2 separate regions of the Homo sapiens genome follow, and region 2 is linked to region 1. Evidence: promoter capture Hi-C in human tissues and cell types (Jung and others, 2019). All regions are on one chromosome and are shown on one strand. Each heading gives the region's core, a stretch centred on a gene start or on the middle of the fragment in contact. The rest is flanking DNA. Distances are from core to core; before and after follow the strand shown.

Evidence for each region. The method cuts DNA at HindIII sites, captures the fragments that hold promoters and counts their contacts. A contact is called where the count stands out against the background at its distance.
Region 2: a contact is called between the fragment with the promoter of HNRNPUL2-BSCL2 here and the fragment with the promoter of FTH1 in region 1, in 1 of the 25 tissues and cell types used here (heart left ventricle).

Annotation. Positions count from the first base shown.
Region 1 is chr11:61,966,197-61,971,984 of GRCh38, reverse strand. FTH1 (ferritin heavy chain 1) reads left to right here and starts at 4,351. Exons shown (of 4, transcript NM_002032.3): 1 at 4,351-4,673. The coding sequence starts at 4,560. It overlaps LOC399900 (a long non-coding RNA gene), which reads right to left and starts at 4,691. Exons shown (of 1, transcript NR_187560.1): 1 at 3,106-4,691. RefSeq lists enhancers at 1-10, 1-108, 3,245-3,294, 3,415-3,484, cis regulatory regions at 1-374, 1-379 and silencers at 4,005-4,354, 4,625-4,824. The HindIII fragment of the contact is 11,433 bases long and covers 1-5,788 here.
Region 2 is chr11:62,723,143-62,729,136 of GRCh38, reverse strand. It overlaps HNRNPUL2-BSCL2 (HNRNPUL2-BSCL2 readthrough (NMD candidate)), which reads left to right and starts at 1,753. Exons shown (of 24, transcript NR_037946.1): 1 at 1,753-2,518; 2 at 4,711-4,846; 3 at 5,147-5,223; 4 at 5,411-5,550. HNRNPUL2 (heterogeneous nuclear ribonucleoprotein U like 2) reads left to right here and starts at 1,680. Exons shown (of 14, transcript NM_001079559.3): 1 at 1,680-2,518; 2 at 4,711-4,846; 3 at 5,147-5,223; 4 at 5,411-5,550. The coding sequence starts at 1,981. It overlaps TTC9C (tetratricopeptide repeat domain 9C), which reads right to left and starts at 651. Exons shown (of 3, transcript NM_173810.4): 1 at 51-651. The coding sequence starts at 288. RefSeq lists enhancers at 270-379, 770-969, 1,220-1,269 and silencers at 1,530-1,689, 1,860-2,239. The HindIII fragment of the contact is 23,424 bases long and covers 1-5,994 here.

The DNA.
Region 1 (5,788 bases), core at 3,102-5,601:
GTGCTGAACCTCCAGAAACCACCGGCTTGGCTCTTCTCTCATCTGAGGTCCCTCCCGCCACTCCTGGCCCTGGGAGGCGGCTGTCCTGGGAGACCAGCCAAACTCTCTGCTGCCTCCAAGTCACGAGGAGCTGAGCTGGAGGGTGGGGGAGGTAGAACCCTGGTCAACAAAGGTCCCAAGACCAGGCCACAGCTTCGGAAGAATCTAAAGGCTTAGACATTGCAGTTCTGACACCTCAAGTTACCAGAAAGTAGGGAACGGACACAAGCAATCATATAAACAATCATAAACACACACACACACTCACACTCCCCCACCAATAGATTTCCCTTCCATTGTTCCCAGCCAGCCTCCTCCCAATGACCTTCTACAGCACAAGCTGTCCCTCAGTCTTGCTGCGATGTTCACTGCAGCTACATGCATGTTTAGCCAAGCATGGAGCCAACACTGATTCAGGAAACCTACTCCCTGCAGCAGACCGACTTCCCTCCAGTGGGTCCGAGAGCTTCATGCTGGCTTTGTCCCCCTGGACATCCCGGAAGCCTGGAAACTCAGCACATCTAGTCCAAAACCAAGCAGGCCTTCCCCAAGGGCTTTCCCCGAAACCTTCATTTCCTCCTGTGCTCCTTGGCTCAGGGAATGGCAGCAGCAGCCAGGCCTACCAAATCATAAAGCTGAGAGATCTCTTACACACTGCCCACCCCTGGCCCCCGACTTTCGCCAATCAGTCTGTTCATTTGATCTTCTCCAGATCTGTCAAATCTGTGTTCTATCTTCTCTGCTCACTAATAACTAAGGCTGCTGCCTCCTGACTGGTGCCCAGCCCTCTAGCCTCACTCTCATCCATCCTCCACATTCAATCATGAATCCATCTGTTCATGCAACAGATACTGGGCACCAAGTAACAAGCAATTTGCAAAAAGCTGGGAGTGCAGAGACAAGACAGAAACAATGCCTGCCTTCCAGGAGCTTACCATCTACAGCACCAGCGCAGGCAATCAAAAGGGTCTCATAAGGCCAGGTGCGGTGGGTCATGCCTGTAATCCCAGCACTTTGGGAGGCCGAGGCAGGTGGATCACTTGAGGTCAGGAGTTCGAGACCAGCCTGGCCAACATGGTGAAACCCCGTCTCTATTAAAAACACAAAAATCAGCCAGGTGTGGTGGTAGGCACCTGTAGTCCCAGCTACTTGGGAGGCTGTGGCAGGAGGATCTCTTGAACCCGGGAGGTGGAGGTTGCAGTGAGCCGAGATCAAGCCACTGCACTCCAGCCTGGGCAACAAGGGCAAAACTCCATCTCAAAAAAAAAGGTGTGACACATACATAGTACTTCATTAAACATACAAATATATATTATAGTTCCTAATCTTCATCACTTACATGAGCTACAAATATCATCCCAATTTGTCATCTCTGTTTTAACCTTGTTTACAACATCTTTTGTCTTACAGCTTTTCATTTTTAAATAGGCAAACCTGCCAACTGTACTTTTACGGCTTCTGACAGCCTCAGAAGAACATTCCCTACCCCAAAATTATAAAAATAATCTTGTATATATTCTTCTCAAAACTTTATACTTTTTTTAAGGCTTGGATTTTTAATCTATCTGGAATGTATTTTTAAATACTGAGTGAGTCACTTTTCTCCACATGACTGTCAATTGTTTCAACATAATTTGTTAAACCCATTCTTTCTTCCCTAATGTGACACAACAGTTTAGCATATACCAAGTTCTCATAATAGGGGGGCAGGACTATTTTGTTGCATTAATCTAGTCATCTCTTCCTGTGCCAGTACCATACTGCTTATAGCACTTTACTGTACCTTTATTATAGCACCAAATGCAAATCTATCAACACACTGACTCCTCCAAATGAACTTTAGAATCATTTTGTGAAGTTTCAAAAAAAAAAAAAATACTGTCCCAGAGACAGTAATGGCTGAGGAAAAACAAAAACAAAAAACTGCCTCTTATGGAAATTGCAGTGAATTTATGCTTATTTGGGGAAACTGACATCTTTACAGAATGAAGATTGACCGACCATTTGGGAATATGGTACCTCTTCATTTATGCTAGGCTTTTTGAATTTTTTGTCCAGCAGTAAGCATTTATAGTTTTTTCTATATATTTCTTGTTAACTTTATTCCAAGGTACTTTAAGCTTTTGTTGTCAATGTAAGTGAAAAACATTTTTTTTTCCATTCTTTTTTCCCCATATTTTCTAACTGGTGGTTACTGTTATAAAGGAAAGCTTTGGATCCTATATATGGTGACTTTGCTATACTCTTATCCTAAGAGATTCCCAGTGTAAGGTTTCTAAAAACAAAGCTAATGAGGTGTCTCTATGCTGTCTCTAGGATCAAGTTTAACCTCTTTTTATGGAACACAACCCTGCCCGATCTTGCCCCTATTCTCCACCCTAACCAGCATCCCCCAACATAAACTGTACTTTCCAGGCCAACATTCTTTCTTTCTTTCTTTTTTTTTTTTTTTTTTGAGACGGAGTTTTGTTTTGTCTTCCAGGCTGGAGTGCAAAGGCGCGATCTCGGCTCACTGCAACCTCCGCCTCCCAGGTTCAAGCGATTCTCCTGCCTCAGCCTCCAGAATAGCTAGGATTACAGGCGCATGCCACCACGCCCGGCTAATTTTTGTATTTTCAGTAGAGAAGGGTTTAGCCATGTTAGTTAGCCAGGCTGATCTCCAACTCCGACCTCAAGTGATCCGCCCGCCTCGGCCTCCCAAAATGCTGGGATTACAGGCATGAGCCACCGCGCCCAGCCCCAGGCAACATATTTTCTTAAGGCAGCTTTAACAGGCCATGCATTTCCACATTTCCACACCTTTGCATATGCTGTTCACTCTGCTCCAAATTCCCTTCCCTGTTTCTCTCCCGCACTTCACCTTCCTTTTAACTTTTTCTTCAAACTCAGCTCACGTGTCTTGCTTAGGGAGGGCTTCCCCGACCTCCTCCTATCCCAGACTGGGTAAGGTACTCCTGGTCTAGCAGCATCCTTCTGTTTACCTTATTCTTGTAGCTCTAGCACCACTAAAACGTTTTTCCTGTAAATAACATAGGTGCATTTTTAAATGAAACCGTGAACAAGAAATCACCCTAATTCCGTCGGCAATTTATTTTAGTATTTCAGTAGAGTTGCTTTTTTAAACTAAGGTTTGGAAGTCTAGCTTCCAGCTGCAGGTTTGTGAGCATCCTGAAATTCAGTTCTTCCACCGATGCGTCAAAAGACGCGACAGAACAGTGGACCTCGAAGCCAGGACCTAGGTAAGGGCAGGGCCTAGCTCTAGCTCTGCCACCCATAAATTCACATCCACCCTGTGCCTGGGACTCAGCTTAGCCACACACACCGGCCCCACCCCTCCGGGGTCTCTTTCACCTGTCACCCGCCATTAACCCCGTCAGCTTCTCTCCAATGACACCCCAGGGTTGTCCTACAGGGCCACCGAAGCCTGAAGCTCCTGTGAGTGGGGCCGATAAGAGGCCATTTTGAAAAGTCCTCAGCATGGGCTTCGCCTTTAGATCCACGTCGTTTCTCCTTTCTAACCCGAGATGTGTCCCTTGGGTGCGAAGCGACACCAGCGATTCTCTCGGAGGCCCCGGTGGCTCACCCCCACGACTCCCCGGGGAGGCGGTCCCCATCCCTAGGGAAACCCGGCCCGCCCAGCCTTTGTTGCAGAAACCGCACACGGAGCCATATTTGCTTTCAGCCAAAGGCAGACGTGGTCGGAGGAGTCGGAAGGGCAGGGGCGGACCCGAAACCCGCCGTGCGCCCCACTTCTCCATCGCGCTCCTTCCTGGACTCTGAGGAAGAGAAAATGCGCTCGACCACCTAAGGACCGCGTCTCCACCTTCCACCTTCCCAATCATCTGCAGCTTCCCAATCTGCAGCAAGGTGTCACAAGGGCTTCTCCGCAGCTATGATTTCTAACACCATGCCCCGGGCCAGGAGCCTCAGGGTGCCCGTTCGGGAAAATGGGAGCCGAATCAGGATCACCCCATGCGCCCCCGCACCCTTCCCCCGCCGGTTCCAACGCCCGGGCGCCCCTAGACCGGGGGGGGGGTTCTGAGGTGGACTTCCTGCGCCTCCTCGCAGCTTCCCTCCAACTCCACTAAACGGGCACAGAGACGCCACCGCTGTCCCAGAGGCAGTCGGCTACCGGTCCCCGCTCCCGAGCTCCGCCAGAGCGCGCGAGGGCCTCCAGCGGCCGCCCCTCCCCCACAGCAGGGGCGGGGTCCCGCGCCCACCGGAAGGAGCGGGCTCGGGGCGGGCGGCGCTGATTGGCCGGGGCGGGCCTGACGCCGACGCGGCTATAAGAGACCACAAGCGACCCGCAGGGCCAGACGTTCTTCGCCGAGAGTCGTCGGGGTTTCCTGCTTCAACAGTGCTTGGACGGAACCCGGCGCTCGTTCCCCACCCCGGCCGGCCGCCCATAGCCAGCCCTCCGTCACCTCTTCACCGCACCCTCGGACTGCCCCAAGGCCCCCGCCGCCGCTCCAGCGCCGCGCAGCCACCGCCGCCGCCGCCGCCTCTCCTTAGTCGCCGCCATGACGACCGCGTCCACCTCGCAGGTGCGCCAGAACTACCACCAGGACTCAGAGGCCGCCATCAACCGCCAGATCAACCTGGAGCTCTACGCCTCCTACGTTTACCTGTCCATGGTGAGCGCGGGCGGGCCTAAGCGGTGGCGGGGGCCGGGCGCGGTTCCCGGGGCGCGCGCTGGGGCGGGCCGGGGGTGTGGCCACCCGCGGGCTCTCCCGCCTCCCTGCGCCCTTCTGGAAAATGGAGGCTGCTCGAGGTTTCCGAGGACTTCTCTGGCGCAGAAAGTCGGGGCAGCTGGTTCTTCTCGGCTGTACCCTGAGAATGCTCCCTCCTAGGCCAGGGCCGCCTCTGCACACCCTTCTTTTTTAAGGAGACCTTGGTGTCCTGAAATCCTGGGGTTGCAAGACTGCCAGCCTGTGTGATCAATCCTGCGGTTAGGAAGGTGGAGTTTTGCTTTCCCATCTTTTCCTCTGCCTCCGGCATTTGGCCCTAAATGCCAGCGTTTTTTGCTTAGGTATCCAGCTCCCGTCCGCCTGTGTGTGGCGGAGCTGCTGGGTAACGGTGTCGAATAGCAAACCTTGGGGGCTGGCGGGAGGTGGCTTATCTTGTGGGTAGATCCCTCTCGAGCAGCCGTATCCACCTCTCGGCTCTGCTTATCTCTAAGTCCCACTTGCTTTGAAGCATATCTCTAGGAATCGCCCCTTCTGCAGTCACCGAAGTGTCACCTGACCTTGCGCCTAGGGGACCTAATTTATCTTTTATGTATCTTACTGTAAGAGGTGTGGAGTTTGGCCTACTAATTGAACCCCCAGTTCTTGGATAAAGTCCACCGACAGTTACTGGGCAAGAAATTTTTCAGTGATCAGTGGAATCAGTTTTCCCAAATCTTGGTCTTAGGCAGTGTCGTGGGAGTCTTCCTTAGAATTGCCTTGTGATTGTCCAAACTATCCCAAGAATAAATGTGTTCCAAATGGATTTGAAAACAGGCCTGTATTTCTGTGACTGTCACTGCCTTTCACAAACACTTGACTACATCAAATGTCTAAAACTGAAAATCAAATTTTTGTGATATAACTATTATAAAAGTATGTTTACATCAACATACTGTCCACATTTGCCACCTTGCATGGGGGTTTTTAATTTGTGTGTGTGTGTGAGAGACAGAGTCTCGCTCTGTCGCCCAGGCTGGAGTGCAGTGGCGCGATCTCGGCTCACTGCAGCCTCCGCCTCCTGG
Region 2 (5,994 bases), core at 504-3,003, 760 kb before region 1:
TCATGTTCCTGTCTTAATGCTCTCTAGCCACCCTTTAGCCCCGTTCTTACCAGCTAGATTGTTATAGCAGTCTGTCTGGGTGGTATGCAATATGTTTTCTTGTTCAGGCGTGAGGGCCGGGCCCTGAGGTCCGAGATTAGGTAACGGAGAGGGCAGACTCGGATCCAGACCCCGCAGCTGAAGCAGAGCTCGATGGTACCTACTCACAGCATCTCGGTACTTCCCTTCCCGGTAGCGCTGGTTCCCTTCCTCCTTGTACAGCTGAGCCTCCTGCAGACGCTTCTCCATAACTGTCGCCCACGGTTCTTGCGGAACTGGGAAGTGAAGGAGCAAGTGAAGCTCTGGGGTTGGGAGCAAAATAACTGACAGTAGCAGCCAATTTAAGGAGGCAGGAAATTACCCTTCTTCCTGGAGAGTCCCCCCACAGGGACCTGCGGTTTGCTTGTTTCTACTGAAAGCCCCACCTCTCCTTTCTGCAGTCTTTTTCTCAAGAAGTGCAGGCAAGTAGTAAGGAAAGGGATGTGGGAATAATGAAGCCCAACATTAAGTGACTTCCTAAAGAGGCGATGTGGGGGTGGATGAGACTTTCCGAAGAACTCAAGCAAGGCCCTACTCAGGAATTGTTGCGGGCGTGAGAACGCCTGGGACACTGGCTTCCGCCTTTCTATTGGACCCGCCCCCCCCCGACCTGGAAGTAGAAGGGAGTGGGCGGGACTAGTGCTAAAACTCCAGAGGGCTTCAAGCAATTCTAACTCTTCTTCCTTATTCAACATTTATTTGTTGACGTCAATAAATAAACTGGGAAGCCGAGGTGAACCACCAGCGACACTGAGGTGTCCACATAAGCGTCACAGCTGCAAGCCCACCCGGCGCCGTGACCAGTTCCTCGCCCTCTGCAGATGCCCAAACCTGGAAGTCTCCTGGGCTTCGGTTTACCAGCAGGAGCAAGGAGAGGAAAGGGTCAGAGATGCGTACAGTTTGGTATCTTGAGGGTCGCGCGCATTGCGCCACACCACCCAATCAGAAGAGGCTCCGGAAAAATAATCCCGCAGAAACGACCCCGCCTCCTCAGCGGACCAACCTGGGAAAAAAAAAAAAAAAAAATTCCCCTGGCAGCTTCGCCAATTGGAAAAATCCGGACGATCACGGATGACCAATCGGAACGGCAAATGACGATTCAAGTTGTCCAATAAGAGAAAAAGGGCGGGTTCAAGGGCCTCTGTTGCTGGGTAGAAGTTGAGGCGTTGAGGAAAAAGGAGGGCCCGGATTACAGTATTTCTTCGTTCTGGGGAGCCCTTTTGCTTCCTAGCCAGAAAAACAATTGCTACTAGGCTTACATGTTGCAACACATTCTCTAATGACTTTTTTTTTGTCGTTACTGCTGCAAGCACAGACAGTAGGGAAAAGAGGCTAGCGACCCCTAAAACGCCACAGCAAATGGAAGTCAGACGGAAGTAAGGGTGGTGGGAGGGGCATGGCATCGGGGAGCTCCGGGCGGCTGCGCAGAACTCCCCGGCTGGAAGTACTGAAAGACCGGCGCGCACACGCTTCCGTGCTACGAGGCACTTGAGCTGCAGCCAGCCTTGCCCGTCTTGGACTCCACTGCGGCTGCGCGATAAAAGCACCGGCGGCGATTGGCCCGGGGGCGCCAGAGGGCGGGAGGAAGCGGGAGGAACTCCGTCGTCCTCCGCGCGCGCCTGCCCGCGGCTGGGGAACCAAGGGCCTGGAGGGGAAACAGCTCCCTGCTGCGTTGTTTTGGGCTCCGTGAGCCGAAAGGGGGAGGGGAGACGAAGGAGAAGCAAACACTGCGCAGCGGGACCGTGCGCGGCCTCCGCTCCTGCGTGCGTGCGCTCGCTCGCGCGGGCTCAGTGCTGGCGCGTGAGGCGGAGGCGGGCGGCGGCGGCGGCGCCTGCGCGGTCGGACTCGGTCGACGGTTCGCAGGGGAGGAGGCGGCGGGAGGCGGAGGAGGCGGCGGCGGCGATGGAGGTGAAGCGGCTGAAAGTGACCGAGCTGCGGTCGGAGCTGCAGCGGCGGGGCCTGGACTCGCGCGGCCTCAAGGTGGATCTGGCGCAGCGGCTGCAGGAGGCGCTGGACGCCGAGATGCTCGAGGACGAGGCCGGCGGCGGCGGGGCCGGGCCCGGCGGGGCCTGCAAGGCGGAGCCTCGGCCTGTGGCCGCGTCGGGCGGCGGCCCGGGCGGGGACGAGGAGGAGGACGAAGAGGAGGAGGAGGAGGACGAGGAGGCGCTGCTTGAGGACGAGGACGAGGAGCCACCCCCTGCTCAAGCCTTGGGTCAGGCCGCGCAGCCGCCGCCGGAGCCCCCGGAGGCGGCAGCCATGGAGGCCGCGGCCGAGCCAGATGCTTCCGAGAAGCCGGCGGAGGCCACGGCCGGGTCAGGCGGGGTAAATGGTGGCGAAGAGCAGGGCCTCGGCAAGAGGGAGGAAGACGAACCCGAGGAGCGGAGCGGGGACGAGACGCCGGGATCCGAGGTGCCGGGTGACAAGGCCGCCGAGGAACAGGGTGAGGAGCTGGCAGCCGAGCCCGGCTCCAACCTGCCGGCTGCGCCCCTGATCTAGCACCCCGCCCTGCACCGCAGGGTCCGAGTCCTTGTTCTCGCTTGCCTCAAAGTGCCATTTGATGGAACTCCTTTCATTCTCTACCCACCTTTCTGAGGGGTTAGGCCGCCTCTCGTGGCCCTACTCTTTGCAGGAGGAAGGTTCCTGCCTAACTTGGTTCCTTGGTGATAGTGGATGGCAGTGAGTGATTTTGCATGCGAACTACTTGTGAGCTACCTGTGGAACAGTCTCCCACGGTGCTTGTTATATTTTTCTTAGCTGAGAAAGTGCTAAGCAATTGGGGATTACACGGAGAACTAGGCCCACAGTTAGAGGGTCAGGTCTTTGGGCTACCTGACCTAACTTTTTCGCCGTAAAAATGTTAAGCAAAAATCGAAGTCCGTCAAAGTCCGTTCCATTAAAAGCATGTTACCAGAGCTTGAGCCACAGAGAATCTGAAAATCCAACCTTGCTCCTCTTTGAGCTGTAAGGGAGAGCCTCTAGTGTAACAGTGTCGAGTTTAATAGTTAACCAGTGAAGAGAAAAATCTTAATCTAGTTCATTTAGAGTTAGTTAACGTTACTTGGCTAGGGTTTTTATCTTGCTTGGATTATGATTAAATTTTAATTGTCCCACTGAGTCCGTGGATAGGCATATTTGTAGATTTGCTGAACACCTGGTGCTAGTCTTTTACGTTTCAGGTCCCTCGGTTCCTGAATGGTAATGACTGAGGTGCTGTTGGGTCCGTTGAGTAACCTTGTGGAAGAGGTGTGTTGTAGAATCGCCCCAGGGAGTTAGTGACCTTTCTCCTTTCTTTTGAAGTGATTGGATGGTTAGAACTGATCCATAACAGTGTGTGTCCGAGTAGGGAGGATAAGTCTTACTATAAAGTGGGTGGCCTCAGTTCTTTTGTTAGTAATATTTTTAGGCCACTATGGAGAGTCATGGTATAATCGGAACCCATTGTACAACAATCACATGCAACTTGCAGATTGTTTGTCCTGTGTCCCGGAGCAAAAATCCCATTACATAACCTTTGACTTATGTATATCCCAAAGAGCAGATAAAAAAATAATTGAAGGATAGGCTGGGGGTGGTGGCTCACGCCTGTAATCCTGGCACTTTGGGAGGCCAGGCGGGTGGATCACCTGAGGTCAGGAGTTTGAGACCAGCCTGGTCAACATGGTGAAACCCCTGTCTCTAGTAAAAATACAAAATATTAGCCGGGCGTGATGGCGGGTGCCGGTAATCCCAGCTTCTTGGGAGGCTGAGGCGGGAGAATGGCTTGAACCCGGGAGGCGGAGGTTGCGGTGAGCTGAGATCGCGCCACTACACTCCAGCCTGGGCGACAGAACGAGACTCTGTCTCAAAAAAATATATATTGAAGGATAAAAGACTGCTTTAAAGAAATTATTATTAAAAACCTTCCTAGTGTTGCAAAATACAGAAGCCTAGGGAAAAACTCCAAGTTTTTTCCTCTTGCAGAGAAGTTGCTAAATATACAACAACACCTTTCTGCCCCAAATGTGCAGTCTAGATGCGGTATTATTTATGGATCTCTTGTGACTTAGTGGTTTGCTCTTGCAACTTTCAGTAGAAGTCCCTGATAAAAATACAGCTGTGTATAATGCACTTGAGTCCATTTGCCACATGAATAAAGCCATGGATGGCTGTGTATTTCAGTGCAGGAAAGGGAAATAAAAGAAATTGAGGCTTCTCTGTATCATGAAGGTGTGGAAAAGTGTTACAAAATATGTACTAACTGCCTACCTTAAATCTAGATCTGACAAGAGTCAAAATTAAATTAACCTTTGAGGTTTTCTTAGAGACCTAGAGGATATTTTTTATGTCATATTGATGGGGAAATCTGCAAGTTTGACCTGATTTAAGTGGATAAATTTAGAATGCAAAAATTGTCCAATTTTTATCTAGTGCTTGACTGTAATTAGCCCATAATGCCCCTTTTTAAAAAAATTAAATCACAGCCAATGACAGAAAGCTGATCTTTAGAAATAAAATGTTATGTGAATGTAGTGGGAATAACCTGGCTGTTTTGATCAGACAGATTCTCAGATTCCCTGTTAGTGTCTATTAGTTGTGAGCTTATTCTACACTCCAGTATGAAAACTGCTGATTTTCTTTCCCTCGTTTTTGTAGGAGATGACCAGGATAGTGAAAAGTCAAAACCAGCAGGCTCAGATGGTGAGCGGCGGGGGGTAAAGAGACAGCGGGATGAGAAGGATGAACATGGCCGAGCTTACTATGAATTCCGAGAGGAGGCTTACCACAGCCGGTGAGGGAAACAGTCCCTTTCGTTGAAGGGAGTGTCTGCTCTGATTTTGGTATACCTGGTATTGACTGGAGAGACTGGAAGGAGGGTGGATTCAAAATGGAATAGGTTTTTATAGGCATGAGTTTTAGATTGCATCTACCATGGAAACTCCTATTGCCCTTTCTCATTTATTGGAAAAAGCTGTCTGCTGGGATTTGATATTCACTGACAGTTTAAAATGGACATAATGTCATACACACACACCCCTCAAAGAAGAGGGCTTTGTTTACATTGTGTTTCTTTTCTATCTTACATATATAGCTCAAAGTCTCCACTGCCTCCTGAAGAAGAGGCAAAAGATGAGGAGGAGGATCAAACTCTTGTGAACCTGGACACGTGTATGTATAAGGCAGACAGACTGTGGTTTTTAACTAATCTCCTAAAAGTGATTTTGGAGATTAAAACTTCATAGCCTATAAATTCTATGAGACTTTGTATCCACTACAACAACTGGTATACTTATGCTCTGTTGGCGGCTTACAAGTATTGGACATTGGAGTAAACTGATTGCTTCTTTCTTTACAGATACCTCGGATCTGCATTTTCAAGTGAGCAAAGACCGCTATGGAGGGCAGCCACTTTTCTCAGAGAAGTTCCCCACCCTTTGGTCTGGGGCAAGGAGTACTTACGGAGTGACAAAGGGAAAAGTCTGCTTTGAGGCAAAGGTAGCTCATTAAGACCATTCATTCATTCATTCATTTATTACTGGATGCTTACGGTTCTTAGAGGGGGAAAAGAAGATTATTATCTCTTTTTTTTTGAGATGGAGTTTCGCTCTTGTTACCCAGGCTGGAGTCCAGTGGCACCATCTCGGCTCACCACAGCCTCTGCCTCCTGGGTTGAAGCGATTCTCCTGCCTCAGCCTCCCGAGGAGCTGGGATTACAGGCATGCGCCACCACACCTGGCTAATTTTGTATTCTTAGTAGAGATGGGGTTTCTCCATGTTGGTCGGGCTGGTCTTGAACTCCCGACCTCAGGTGATCCGCCCGTCTTGGCCTCCCAAAGTGCTGGGATTACAGGCATGAGCTACCGCACCTGGCTGGGGAAGAAATATTTTTTTAAAAAGACCGTTCATTTATTCATTAAGCTACTACCTATGTATACTGGA